Regions from separate parts of the Homo sapiens genome. Here all the other regions are linked to region 1. The links are contacts of gene promoters, found by promoter capture Hi-C in human tissues and cell types (Jung and others, 2019). All regions are on one chromosome and are shown on one strand. Each heading gives the region's core, a stretch centred on a gene start or on the middle of the fragment in contact. The rest is flanking DNA. Distances are from core to core; before and after follow the strand shown. Region 1 holds the start of PRMT2 (protein arginine methyltransferase 2). Region 2 overlaps PCNT (pericentrin). Region 3 overlaps PCNT (pericentrin).

What was found. The method cuts DNA at HindIII sites, captures the fragments that hold promoters and counts their contacts. A contact is called where the count stands out against the background at its distance.
Region 2: a fragment that was not itself captured here is called in contact with the fragment with the promoter of PRMT2 in region 1 in 2 of the 25 tissues and cell types used here (lymphoblastoid cells and mesendoderm cells).
Region 3: a contact is called between a fragment that was not itself captured here and the fragment with the promoter of PRMT2 in region 1, in 1 of the 25 tissues and cell types used here (lymphoblastoid cells).

What each region holds. Positions count from the first base shown.
Region 1 is chr21:46,632,162-46,636,967 of GRCh38, forward strand. PRMT2 (protein arginine methyltransferase 2) reads left to right here and starts at 3,513. Exons shown (of 12, transcript NM_206962.4): 1 at 3,513-3,602; 2 at 4,278-4,386; 3 at 4,735-4,806. The coding sequence starts at 4,791. RefSeq lists an enhancer at 2,611-3,281 and silencers at 3,052-3,271, 3,382-3,931. The HindIII fragment of the contact is 3,678 bases long and covers 1,820-4,806 here.
Region 2 is chr21:46,402,572-46,407,300 of GRCh38, forward strand. The region is part of intron 27 of PCNT (pericentrin); the gene reads left to right. Among named protein-coding and RNA genes, the nearest start is that of DIP2A, 54 kb to the right of the region's middle. RefSeq lists enhancers at 875-1,385, 1,386-1,895. The HindIII fragment of the contact is 7,053 bases long and covers 1-4,729 here.
Region 3 is chr21:46,382,682-46,387,627 of GRCh38, forward strand. PCNT (pericentrin) reads left to right here. Exons shown (of 47, transcript NM_006031.6): 17 at 3,151-3,302. Among named protein-coding and RNA genes, the nearest start is that of PCNT, 61 kb to the left of the region's middle. RefSeq lists an enhancer at 3,313-3,813. The HindIII fragment of the contact is 4,226 bases long and covers 655-4,880 here.

The DNA of each region.
Region 1 (4,806 bases), core at 2,263-4,762:
ATACATAGATGTATTAGGTATACCGATAGAAGTACATCTTATAGATTCCTAAGACCTCTTTTTTTTTTTCTATCTTAGACTTGCAAACTCTTGATCATCTGTGTCATTGCCCTGGCAGTTGCCGGCTAAATAGCCCTAAATCTGCATATTAAAGGAAACTATTAGATGAAAAATTAGATAGCAAAATTTACATTTTAAGGTACAGAGAGGAAAAAGTCTGGTGGTGCTAAAGAGAGATTAAAAATGGATGTGAAATCAAACATAAAATTATGAAAATCTATCATAGGATTGTATAAGGAGACCAGTTTTATTTAGACAGAGACTCCCTATATTTTAACTGGATCTCTGAGCTCTGGGCAGACCCTACACTGAATCCTGGGTCTCCAAAAAGCGAAAATTATTATGAGGTTAGACTACATCATGCTTTTACAGTGCACTTAAAAAACTTTTTTCAACAAAGACATTTCTACATGTCTAAACTATACTATTCCTTAAGAACTCCAGAGTAGCCTCTGTTGCAGTAACTATTTTAGTAAAAAAATTAGGTAACACAATACAAAAGCAAGCAGTTTAAGAGCTGAGATGAAAAAAAAAAAAAGCTGAGATGAACTTGTCTGTTTACACATTTGGGGTTCCATAAGGAAACAGAGGTTTCTCCTCCAAGGGGAATCTGGCACCTTCTCCGTTTTCTGTAAGGAACCCTGGGTATTACAAACTATATTAGGTTTCCCATGAAGCAGAGGGTGCAAGAGAAAGAAGACACGACAAAAGTAAATGAAGAAAACAGAAGCCAGTCAACTAAGAAGAAAAAAACTTTTGCTCAAAAAGACAAGGTCCTAGGAGAGAAAAAAACAAAAAAAACAAAACTGGAAGCCTTTTAAATACAAACACACACACACAGGCACACAACACACATATGTTGGATGTTAGCTTTTAATTAAGCTTTTAACCATTGAGCTCCTTAAAAATAAACTTTTTCAATCTCATTACTGGCTGGGCATGGTGGCTCATGCCTGTAATCCCAACACTTTGGGAGGCCGAGGTAGGCGGATCACTTGAGGCCAGTTTGAGACCAGCCTGGCCAACATGGTGAAACCCCATCTCTACCAAAAAAATACAAAAATGAGCTGGGTGTGGTGGTGCAGGCCTATAATGCCAGCTACTCAGGAGGCTAAGGCATGGGAATCACTTGAACCTGGGAGGTGGAGGTTGCAGTGAGCTGAGATTGTGCCACTGCACCCCAGCCTGGAACACAGAGCCAGACTCTGTCTAAATAAATAAATAAATCTCATTATCATATTTCAGCTAGGACTAATTGCTGCTATTTCAGAAGTACCAAGTATCAAACCAGAAAGGGCTTAATTTAGGAACTAAACCCAGGCTGTGGTGGTGGAAAAAAAGAAGGCAGAACCCTTAGGTATGGAACTGCAGTGTGGGGTGACAGACATTACTCTTTTTGGTTGGTCTGGCTAGCAAAAATGTGGCCTTGTTATGTAAGAAAAGCCCTTTAAGTAGTCAAAATAAATTTTTTTTTTCTTTTTCCTTTTGCTAGCTGTTTTTCTCCCCCCACCACATCACCTTTTGTGTGTGTGTGTGTGGTGGGGAGGGGTTGAAACTTAGCCACTTCAGAGGCCTCACTTCTCATAATTTGGAACTTTCCTTTGGTTTCGATCAAGTCAGATAGAGTTCGTCAAACTCAATGCGAAAAAGACAAAAGAACAAAAAACAGAAACAACAACAAAAAAACCAGTTAAGCGAAACGAAGGATTGGGCAATTTATAAGGTTACTGAGCACACTAATGGTAAGGAGAAATTAAGACCAGCTGGTTGTTAATCTTAATAGCCAAGACAAACCCCAATTCAGTTACTTCCTAGGGATGGGTCTGAGGCTGAAGATTGCTCTCTACCACCCTAGAAGCAGAGGAAGAAAACCCCTCATCTTTCCTGTGGGAAGCGAGCTCAAACTCCATAAACGAGTTACCTGCCTTCCATTGTCATGGAAGCAGGAAAAAACTACTACTTCCTTATGTTGGAAGAGAGTAAAGCACACCCCGCCCCCCAACCCCCGCCCAACACACAAAAGGAGTTGTACAGCAAAATAAACTAGATCTTGACTAAATCTGGGTAGATCAGGGATTCTCTGGAGGGGGTGCTTCCAGGCCTCAGCAAATTGTCCTATTGGTTTGAGCCATAAAGATAGCTCAAGCTGGTACTAAGGACTGACAGATTTGTCAAAGGTCAGTGGCACCTCTACTCAGAATCCCTTTGTGGTTACCAAAATGTGAACCTTGAATATCTGAGTCAGATCTCAGTCAACTTAGGAAGTTTATTTTGCTGAATTTAAGGATGCACGCCCATGACACGGCCGTCGGAGGCCCTGATGACATGTGCCCAAGGTGGTCAGAGCACAGTTTGGTTTTATACGTTTTAGGGAGACATGAGACATCAATCAATATATGTAAGATGAACATTGGTTTGGTCCGGAAGGGCGGGACAACTCAAAGCAAAGGCAGGAGGGAGCTTCCAGGTCATAGGTAAATATGAGACAAATCATTGCATTCCCTTGAGTTTCTGGTTAGCCTCTCCAGAGGTGGCAATCAGATACGCATTTATCTCAGTGAGCTGAGAGATGACTTTGAACAGAATGGGAGGCAGGTTTGCCCTAAGCAGTTCCCAACTTGACTTTTCCTTTTAAGCTTAATGATTTTGCGGCCCCCAAATTTATTTTCCTTCCACATTTTTTTTTTTAAATCAGACTTAAGGTCTGCCTTGATGTTAATGCTGGAGGAGTGTAAAAAGGCATGTCCAACTCTTACTTCCCTTCGAGGCCAGAATAGTCTCTCAGGTTGAACTTCAGGGTCCCCTGGTAAAGGAGGGAGTCCAGTCAGACGGCTGCGGGGGAGGGGGGGCTTCGAATTTTATGTTTTACAGGCATTAGCGCCACCCATTTCTCCTTAACCCCAAACTTCCTCTCCCCACAACAGAAACGTCATCATTCTGCTTCCACTTATCCAGAAGAAAGGCAGAGGGCGCACACTGCGCAGCGCGGATGGGAAAGTTAACTGAATTATTTGCGGGAAGACAGAGGAGGTGGGGGGTCCCCCAAGCCCCAGCCATTTTGTGGCTCGTAGGGGTTGTCGCTTCCCAAGCCGTGAATGGCCCAAACCCGCCCCCCGCCCCAGGTCGGACTCCTGCCCCGCGCCCCTCTGGGTCGGACCCCAAGCCGAGCCCCCCAACCCCGCGGCTGGGCTGGGCGATTGGGGACGAGCTCCACACATGGAGAACCTGGCCTCGCCTCGCAAGACCGCGGGACGCGCAGATGTGAAGTGCGCCTGCGCGGGGCGCAGCCCCAGCTGCAGACGATCTGTGAGCGACGCGCCGGCGCAAGTCGAGGGCGGTGGCTTGGCTTCCCTGGAATGGGGGACGTCTTAGGACTGCGCCTGCGCGGGGCGCCGGGCCCTGGGCGGGGCCTTCCCGGCTGACGGCCTGCGTGCACTGCGCTTGCGCGGGTTGAGGGCGGTGGCTCAGGCTCCTGGAAAGGACCGTCCACCCCTCCGCGCTGGCGGTGTGGACGCGGAACTCAGCGGAGAAACGCGATTGAGGTAGGTGTCCTGATGGGCAGCTCAGATGGCTGGACTGCACGTAAGGAAGGACAGGCCAGGTGAGGCGTCCTCGCACTGCGTGTGCGTCGCTGGCGGACAGAGGCCTCCGCCCCCTTTTGGGACCTCCGAGCGCCTTCGCGATCTCAGCCACTTTCCCTGGCGTCCAAACGGGAGCTCGGTCCCCGTCACACCCTTCCCTGCGTGCCGCACCCCTTCCCGGCCACTCCCGCCGTCCAGCGCCTTCTACGGCCACGCCCACCCCACCACCATCTCTGTCACGCCCTTCGCGGCCACGCCCACCTGCCTGGCGGCCCCTGCCCCGAAGCTCGCGGCGCTGTCCCAGCCTGACCCTCTCGTGCCCCTGCGTCCACGCGTGGCCCTCTCGCTTCCTGCCCCCTTCTCACCCCCCTTCACTGGCCACCTGTTCCAACCCTCCATGATCCTGTTCCTCCCGAGGGCATCTTAGGAGGGCAGGGTCCTGCGCGCACTGCGGCCTCCACTCCGACCCCGTCCCAGTTTGGACCCAGGTCTTCCAATGAAAATATAATTATGCAAATCAGTAAGCATTTGTAACTACGAATATCACAAAAATAAGCTTCAAGTCTGGATTTAGAAGTGAAGCATGCATTTTAAACAAAGAATTGCTATGCAATTTTAAAAACACATTGATCCCAGAGCAGTGTGTGGATTACACTATCACTGGAAAAATACGAATTGAGAAGAAGGAAAAGACTGGAAGATGCAGACCTTGGTTCCTGTTAGTGGAAACACTGTAAGGTCCCAGGTAGGGACTTTTAATTGGAATTAAAGCTATCACACTTCTAAGAAATTAATGAATACTGATTTATTGCCTTAAGTCGACACCTGATCTAACAGAAACTAACAGGCTTCAGCAAATGAACAAGATTAACACCTTGCAGACTAGTGAAGAAAACACACTATTTGAAGTTTATGATTTTTAAATGCTTTTGTCTCTGTAAAGTATTGTAAATTTTCATTTCTACACTAATCTTCACACATACACATTTTACTTCTATTTGGTAGAGGACATCATGCACATTAGAAGTTAAGTGAACTCAATTATTAAGCAATGTAACAAGTACTTTGTGTCTCCTTCTCTTTTTAAAAGTAGAAATGGAAAAGAAAATGAAATAAATCAGCAGTTATGAGGCAGAGCCTAAGAGAACTATGGCAACATCAGGTG
Region 2 (4,729 bases), core at 1,732-4,231, 230 kb before region 1:
GTCTCTGGTCTTCACAGACGCCCGTGGCCCCCATGTGGCAGACAGTGCAGAGAGCGCCCGATTCTGCCTGGGGACATGTGCATGGAAGCAGCTTTCTAGGGATCTTGAGTGAGGAACCAGCGACCCCTGCCCCAAACTGCTTTCTGATTGCAGCACTGATAGGGATCTGAGGAGAGGCACTTCCCTAGGGCAGCACCCCAGGGCTGTGAGAGGCGTGAAGCTATTGGGCTGTTGGTGGCTTGCTCTTCTCAAGGAGGTGACTTGAGTAAGTGGCTACTCACTGTTTCTCTTCCCACTGGCATGATGGGAAAAAAATCTTAAGAACAAATTTTTTTTTAAATTTTTGTGAGTACATAGTAGGTGTATATTAAAAAATCTATTTTTAAATCTTTTATTTTAATGTAGCCGTGCTTTTGAAGCAAAAAAGAAAACCAAAACCAACCTGTTTATAGTAGAGATGATATTCAAAATTGCAGAGCATTCATAACTTCACAGATGCCCTTGAAAGACCTTGTGTAGAATCGTGTGTGTGGTGCCCACACAACACGTGCTCAGTGAATGAACACAGCGTGGGAGAATTAGTGTGTGTGGTGCCCACGCGGCGCGTGCTCGGTGAATGAACACAGCGTGGGAGAATCGTGTGTGTGTGGTGCCCACGCGGCGCATGCTCGGTGAATGAACACAGCGTGGGAGAATTGTGTGTGTGGTGCCCACGCAGCGCGTGCTCGGTGAATGAACACAGCGTGGGAGAATTGTGTGTGTGTGGTGCCCACGCGGCGCGTGCTCGGTGAATGAACACAGCGTGGGAGAATTGTGTGTGTGGTGCCCACGCGGCGCGTGATTGGTGAATGAACACAGCGTGGGAGAATTGTGTGTGTGGTGCCCACGCGGCACGTGCTTGGTGAATGAACACAGCGTGGGAGAATTGTGTGTGTGGTGCCCACGCGGCGTGTGCTCGGTGAATGAACACAGCGTGGGAGAATTGTGTGTGTGTGGTGCCCACGTGGCACATGCTCGGTGAGTGAACACAGCGTGGGAGAATCGTGTGTGTGTGGTGCCCACGTGGCACATGCTCGGTGAATGAACACAGCGTGGGAGAATCGTGTGTGTGTGGTGCCCACGCGGCACGTGCTTGGTGAATGAACACAGCGTGGGAGAATAGTGTGTGTTTGGTGCCCACGCGGCGCGTGCTCGGTGAATGAACACAGCGTGGGAGAATTGTGTGTGTGGTGCCCACGCGGCACGTGCTCGGTGAATCAACTCAGCGTGGGAGAATCGTGTATGTGTGGTGCCCACGCGGCGTGTGCTCGGTGAATGAACACAGCGTGGGAGAATTGTGTGTGTGGTGCCCACGCGGCGCGTGCTCGGTGAATGAACACAGCGTGGGAGAATTGTGTGTGTGGTGCCCACGCGGCGCGTGCTCGGTGAATGAACACAGCGTGGGAGAATTGTGTGTGTGTGGTGCCCACGTGGCGCGTGCTCGGTGAATGAACACAGCGTGGGAGAATTGTGTGTGTGGTGCCCACGCGGCGCGTGCTCGGTGAATGAACATAGCGTGGGAGAATTGTGTGTGTGTGGTGCCCACGTGGCGCGTGCTCGGTGAATGAACACAGCGTGGGAATGCTCCCTGAGTGAACACAGCGTGGGAGAGTCTCAAAAAACAACAACAATAACAACAAAAAAAATTTTCAAATTGATTTTCCATTTTTCCAATTTAAAACTGTAGGCTTATTTAATTAGGACATTTCATATCTGTAGGGTCAGTGGAATATTTCCCTATTAAGGTTCTGTCGGCTCTGTTTTGATATGGTTGTTGTTATTACCATTTCCACCGGCATTTCTGCCCAACAAAGAAGAGGAGATAGTGCGTGTGAACGAGCAGCTCTAGGCACCGCAGGTTTACCTCGGCGAGGTACGCCACTCCCTGGTGCTGGGGGAGAAGGGGCTCTTCTCACGCTTCTGGCTACGCCTGCGTCTCCTGTACGAAGTCCTCATAGTTTCTGGGTGTGATTGACTGGGGCCTTGGCTTTCCAGGATGACAGTCTTCTGTTTCCTCATACAATATTTATAATACTTTTCAAAATTAATTTTATCAGTTGGGCACGGTGGCTCAAACGCCTGTATTCTCAGCACTTTGGGAGACTGAGGAGGGTGGGTTACTTGAGCTCAGGAGTTCGAGACCAGCCTAAACAACATGGGAAAACCCCATCTCTACTAAAAATACAAAAATTAGCCAGGCATGGTGACACACCACTCCGGAGACTGAGGCAGGAGAATCACTTGAACCCAGGAGATGGAGGATGCAGTGAGCTGTGATTGTGCCACTGCACTCCAGCCTGGGCAACAAAGCAAGACCCTGTCTCAAAAACAAAATTAACTTTATGGCCGGGCACAGTGGCTCTCACACCTGTAATCCCAGGAGTTTGGGAACCTGAGGTGGGAGGATCGTTTGAGCCCAGGAATTCGAGATCAGCCTGGACAACGTAATGAGACCCATCTCTACAAATTTTTTTAAAAAATTTAGCCAGGCATACACCTATAGTACCAGCTACTCTGAAGGATGAGATAGGAAGATCACTTGAGCCTGGGAGGCCAAGGCCACAGTGAGCTGTGATCATGCCACTGTAATCCAGCTGTAATGACAGAACAGGACCCTGCCTAAAAAAAAATAATTTTGGAGGGGACCATAGAAGTAAGGAGAAGTTTGTCTCCAGTTTGTCACTTTTAATTTCCCTTTGACAGAGGCTACTGAGATGTTATCTGTCTTAGTATCTGATTGTATCTTGTATATTTGGCAAAAATTTAAAAATAGCCTTTTGGGTTACATTGAAGAATGCCTTTTATGGCCAGGAGCGGTGGCTCACGCCTGTAATCCCAGCACTTTGGGAGGCCCAGGCGGGCAGATCACTTGAGCTCAGGAGTTCGAGACCAGCCTGGCCAACATGGTGAAACCCCGTCTCTACTAAAAACACAAAAGTTAGCTGGGCCTGGTGGCCGGTGCCTCTAATGGTTACTTGGGAGGCTGAGGCAGAAGAATCACTTGAACCCAGAAGGTGGAGGTTGGCAGTGAGCCGAGATTGCGCCACTGCACTGCAGCCTGGGCGACAGAGCAAGACTCGTCTCAAAAAAAAAAGAATGCCTTTAAAAACCATTGATTACTTTTCAGAAGAAGTTGTATTATTTGTCTATAGTGCTCTAGAACTTGACCTCTAACTATAATCTTATATAATGAAAAATATATAAAAAATAGTTTACATGTTAAGGACAGTATTTTTGTTCCATTAAGAATTGAAAGCTTTTTAAGGACAATCCCCAATATTTTCTTGTGGGATTTTTCTTACAGATATGTGCAAATTCGTACATCCTTCATTTTCTGTAATTCTCCTAATTTTTTGTAAAGATGCGGATGCTATTTTGCTTTATATAATAAAGAAAAGTAAAATTCCATTTAAAGGTTTGACTCTTGTTAGGTTTCCAGTTATTTCAAGGAAACCACATTTGCTGTATTCTACCCTATTTTATGTCAGTGAAGATGTTTGTCTTCTAGAAGCGTCTTTTACACTTGTGGGGAAACGGAGCTCCCGTCTCCCTGGCGTGGTCGTGGTTGTTGTCACTTGTTCTGTACTGCCGTCCTCCGGGGCTCCAGCCATCCTAACACCTCATCCTCAATGTGGGCCCTCCCTCCCTGTGTGGCTTATTCTAACTCTGGGGTTAGTGATGTTTCTTTAATTTTACCATTTACTTCTCCCTTATTCTACAGGTTTTAATAAAGAGGTCTCACGTCTTTTGTTAAATTTATCCTTAAATATTTTAGGTTTTTTGCACTATTGTAAGTGAGATTTAAAATAATTATCTAGTTGTTTACCGTGAATACACATACACCTTTTGTATGTTAACCTTGCTGTTACCTTGCACAATTTATGTATATTAGTAGCGTTTTGTGGATTCCTGAAGGCTTTTTATGTATAAGATAACATCATCTTCAGATAAAGACAGTTTTATTTCTTTCCAATTTTTGTTATTTCCTTCTTTTATTACAATGTCTAGCACTCCCAGTACAAAGTTAAAACTGGCTAGGGCAGTCATCTTTGCCCAGCTCCTTGTCTTACAGGGAAGTGGTCAGTGTTTTGCCATTAAGTATATTAGCTTTAGGTTTTTCACAGGTGCCTTTTTATCAGATCAAGGAAGTTCTGTTATATTTCTAGTTTGCTTTTTCTGGATCTATTGAAATAGTGATGATATTTTTCTCTTTTATTCTACTAATAAGGTTAACTTTATTGAGTGATTTATTTCTTGGAGATTAAACTAACCTTGCGGTTCTAGGATAAACCATACCTGGTAGTGATGTACTGCCCTTTTCATATGTTACAGATATTACTGAATTTGATTTGCTAATATTTTGTTAATGGTTTTTGCATCTGTGTTCATGAGGGATGTTGGTGCATAATTGTCTTTTCTTGCAGTGTTCCCTAAGGCTTTGTATGAAGGTTATGTTAGTCTCATAAAATAGATTGGGAATTTTTTCACTTTCTTTTCTGAAAGAGGTTATTTAACATAGCTGGGATTTCTTCTTTGAATGTTTTCATAGCATCAACAATGAAGCCATTTGGAGTTTTATATCTAGAGAGATTGATGGTAATTAATTTTCTTTAACAGACTGAGGTATTTGGATTTCTGTTTCATGTTGTGATAAGTTGTATTTTTCAAGGAACTTGTGCATGTCATCAAA
Region 3 (4,946 bases), core at 1,518-4,017, 250 kb before region 1:
GGCGGAAGCGCATTCACAGTGTTGTATATTCAGTGGCGGAAGCGCATTCACAGTGCTGTGCATTCAGTGGCGGAAGCGCATTCACCGTGTTGTATATTCAGTGACAGAAGCGCATTCACGGTGTGCATTCAGTGGCGGAAGCGCATTCACGGTGTTGTGCGTTCAGTGGCGGAAGCCCATTCATGGTGTTGTGCATTCAGTGGCGGAAGCGCATTCACGGTGTTGTGCATTCAGTGGCGGAAGTGCATTCACAGTGTTGTATATTCAGTGACGGAAGCGCATTCACAGTGCTGTGCATTCAGTGGCGGAAGCCCATTCACGGTGTTGTGCATTCAGTGGCGGAAGCCCATTCACAGTGCTGCGCATTCAGCAGCGGAAGCGCATTCACAGTGTTGTATATTCAGTGGCGGAAGCGCATTCACAGTGCTGTGCATTCAGTGGTGGAAGCCCATTCACGGTGTTGTGCATTCAGTGGCGGAAGCGCATTCACAGTGTTGTATATTCAGTGGCGGAAGCACATTCACCATGTTGTATATTCAGTGGCGGAAGCGCATTCACAGTGTTGTATATTCAGTGATGGAAGCGCATTCACAGTGCTGTGCATTCAGCAGCGGAAGCGCATTCACGGTGTTGTGCGTTCAGTGGCAGAAGCACATTCACGGTGTGCATTCAGTGGCGGAAGCGCATTCACCATGTTGTATATTCAGTGACGGAAGCGCATTCACGGTGTTGTGCATTCAGTGGCAGAAGCGCATTCACGGTGTTGTGCGTTCAGTGGCAGAAGCGCATTCACAGTGTTGTATATTCAGTGGCGGAAGCGCATTCACCATGTTGTATATTCAGTGGCGGAAGCGCATTCACAGTGTTGTATATTCAGTGATGGAAGTGCATTCACAGTGCTGTGCATTCAGCAGCGGAAGCGCATTCATGGTGTGCGTTCAGTGGCAGAAGCGCATTCACGGTGTTGTGCATTCAGTGGCGGAAGCGCATTCACAGTGTTGTGTATTCAGTGGCGGAAGCGCATTCACAGTGTTGTATATTCAGTGATGGAAGCGCATTCACAGTGCTGTGCATTCAGCAGCGGAAGCGCATTCACGGTGTTGTGCGTTCAGTGGCAGAAGCGCATTCACGGTGTTGTGCGTTCAGTGGCGGAAGCGCATTCACCATGTTGTATATTCAGTGACGGAAGCGCATTCACGGTGTTGTGCATTCAGTGGCAGAAGCGCATTCACAGTGTTGTGCGTTCAGTGGCAGAAGCGCATTCACAGTGTTGTATATTCAGTGGCGGAAGCGCATTCACCATGTTGTATATTCAGTGGCGGAAGCGCATTCACAGTGTTGTATATTCAGTGATGGAAGCACATTCACAGTGCTGTGCATTCAGCAGCGGAAGCGCATTCACAGTGTTGTATATTCAGTGGCGGAAGCGCATTCACAGTGTTGTATATTCAGTGATGGAAGCACATTCACAGTGCTGTGCATTCAGCAGCGGAAGCGCATTCACGGTGTTGTGCGTTCAGTGGCAGAAGCGCATTCACGGTGTTGTGCGTTCAGTGGCGGAAGCGCATTCACAGTGTTGTATATTCAGTGGCGGAAGCGCATTCACAGTGCTGTGCATTCAGTGGCGGAAGCCCATTCACGGTGTTGTGCATTCAGTGGCGGAAGCGCATTCACAGTGTTGTATATTCAGTGACGGAAGCGCATTCACGGTGTTGTGCATTCAGCAGCGGAAGCGCATTCACCATGTTGTATATTCAGTGATGGAAGCGCATTCACGGTGTTGTGCATTCAGTGGCAGAAGCGCATTCACGGTGTTGTACATTCAGTGACGGAAGAGCATTCACGGTGTTGTGCGTTCAGTGGCGGAAGCCCATTCACGGTGTTGTGCATTCAGTGGTGGAAGCCCATTCACAGTGCTGTACATTCAGTGGCAGAAGTGCATTCGTGGTGTGCATTCAGGGGCGGAAGTGCATTCACGGTATTGTGCATAGTTCAGTGGCAGAAGCGCATTCACGGTGTTGTGCGTTGAGCGGCGGAAACACATTCATGGTGTTGTGCGTTGAGCGGCGGAAGCGCATTCACGGTGTTGTGCGTAGTTCAGTGGCGGAAGTGCATTCATGGTGTTGTGCGTTGAGCGGCGGAAGCGCATTCACGGTGTTGTGCGTTCAGTGGCAGAAGTGCATTCACAGTGTTGTGCATAGTTCAGTGGTGCAAGTGCATTCATGGTGTTGTGCGTAGTTCAGTGGTGCAGGCACATTCACGGTGTTGTACATTCGGTGATGGAATCACATTCACAGTATTGTGCAGCCATCACCACCATCCATCTCCAGAAGTCTTCATCTTGCAAAACTGAACTCTGTCCCCATTAGACTCTCACTCCCCATTTGCCCTCCCCTGGCACCATGGCTCACACCTTTAATCCCAGCACTTCGGGAGGCTGAGGCAGGAGGACCACTCCAGCCCAGGAATTCGATACCAGCCTGGGCAACATAGGGAGACCCTGTCTCTATAAAAAATTAAAAAAATTAGCCGTGTGTGGTGGCACGCACCTGTAGTCCCAGCTTCTCAGAAAGCTGAGGTGGGAGGATTGTTTGTGCCCTGGAGTTTGAGGCTACAGTGAGCTGTGATTGTGCCACTGCACTCCAGCCTGGGCAACAGAGTGAGACCCTGTCTCAGAAAGAAAGATCTTTGCCTGCCTGGCAACTGACTTTTGTGAATGACCAGATACAGTGACTTATTTCGAATTGCTGTTTGAGTGGTGGATCTCTGATGAACTGGCCCCTTCCCTCCCCTAGCCTCAGGTTCCACCTGGGGATGTTTGTGTATTCTTTTGTAAATGATGAATAATGGAGGAAAAACCGTATCAATAATTTTCACCTTTAATCAGCACCTCGTTCACCTTTGCCGTATTTTTATTAAATGTGCAGGTGCTCCTTGGCCTTTGCTGAGGTCACGCCTTTGACCACTGTCAGTGGAAGGCGTTGTGAGTCGAGGAACGTGCCGAAGTGCCTGCTCCTTTTGCCCCATCACCAAGCTGAAAAGTCCTAAGTCAGAGACTCTCAAATACTGAAATTGTGTTGAAAGTCCCTTACAGCCATTTGCTTTTAACCAAATTGTTTTAACGAAAGCTTTAACCATTTTTCTCGATAGCTGAAAGACCAGGTTTTATCCTTAAGTCACGAGATAGAAGAGTGCCGCTCCGAGTTGGAGGTGCTGCAGCAGAGGCGGGAGCGGGAGAACCGGGAAGGCGCAAACCTCCTCTCCATGCTCAAGGCCGACGTCAACCTGTCCCACAGCGAAAGGTCAGTGTGTCCTCGGCACCGAGGCTGCCTTGTGGCCGCCAGCACCCGCTGGGTCATGCAGATGCCATTGGTCCCCACGGCTCCTGGCCCCGTGGCTGCTGCCACCATGCACGCTGGCTCCTGGTGGACGGGGACCCGGCTTCCTTCTTCTCTCAGTTAGAAAGATTGTAAGCACCGGGAAGAAATCGCCTGCTGTGTCTCATCTCCCAGCCCCCGTGCCCTCCTCCCACCCTGCCTGCTGTGTCTCATTTCCCCATCTGGCCAGATTAAAACCAGCCGTTATCTCCCACACAGAGCCCGACCCCTCCCCTTTAGTGTCTGCGTCCCCGCAGCGTGTCCTCGTCCCCGGCACGGGGTGCAGGCCCACATGTCTCGTGGTTCCTGTGCTTTGGACTGTGTGCAAGTGTCGTGCCTCATGCATCTCTCTCTGTGACGTGTGTTTCTGAGACCGGCCCAAGCAGGGGCCGTAGCCCTGTCCGTTCCTTTCTCCATTGGGAGCCTGTGCCTGGGTAGCTGCAGGCACTGGGCTGAGCGCCCAGCCCCGAGGGCTCTCCCAGGGCGGGGTGTGGGTCTGCTTACCACGGGCCGTGGGGCCGCCTTCCCTGAACGCATGGGTCCAGGCCACATCCTGCCTTGGTGCCTCCTCACCTGCAGTGATGCTGTCCAGCAGGCTTGTCTGCCCTTTTGTCGCGTGTGGGGTCTTGAGAAACTTTTTGCTCCTCTGACACCATGGAGGTTTTTCCCAGGTCACCTCACAGGGTTTTAAGTTTTGCTTTTGTGTGACTCTGGGGTGAGCCTGCAGAGTTGTTCTTGCTTGCACCTGTCTGGGCAGTGGACTCGGCACTGTGTTGCCAAACGCAGCCTCCCCTTGGTGCGCGTCCTCCCCGTCCCCTTGTGTGGGTCTTTGGCTGCTCCCATTGGCGTGTCCCCGCCCGAGGCCTCTGTGTCCTGCTGCTGCTCCCATCTGTGTGTCCCCGCTGAGGCTTCTGGGTCCAGCCACTGCTCCCGTCTGTCTGTCCCCGCCCCAGGCCTCTGAGTCCTGCTGCTGCTCCCGTCTTTGTGTCCCCACTCGAGGCCTCTGGGTTGTGCTGCTGTGTCCTGAAGCTCTGAACTGGTTTGGCTCTGCTCTGGAGACCACCCAGGGTCCGGAGACCAGGTCGGGCTTATGGGACCCTCTGAGCTCACAGCTGTTTCTGGAGCATTGGTGTCTGTCATGCTGAGGGTCCATCCGTGTGTGGGGGGTGTCTGTGCAGGTCTCTCTTTGTTCTTTTCATCAAGTTTTGTGATTTTTCTGTGAGGACCTTGCCTTCTGTAGCACTTGGCTGTGGGTGTCTCGTAGCTTGGTGCTGACTCTCTCCAGTCACCCAGGTCAGTGGGCGAGCGAGAGCTCTAAACCGAGGGGCACAGCGGCCAGTGGGGCGGTCTGTGCTCTTAACTCGAGGGGTGCAGAGGTGGGTGGTGGGCGGGGTAGTCCCAGGCTCTAAACACAAGGGGTGCAGAGGTGAGCCCACGGTCCCTGGACACTGGAGAGGCTGCCTGTCTTGAGGTGGGGTGGCTGCAGACGCCCTGATGCCTGCAGGAGTTGGGCATTTTGGGGGGTGGAAGTGTGCTGGGGAGCAGGTGGCATTCTCTCCGTCAAGCCCC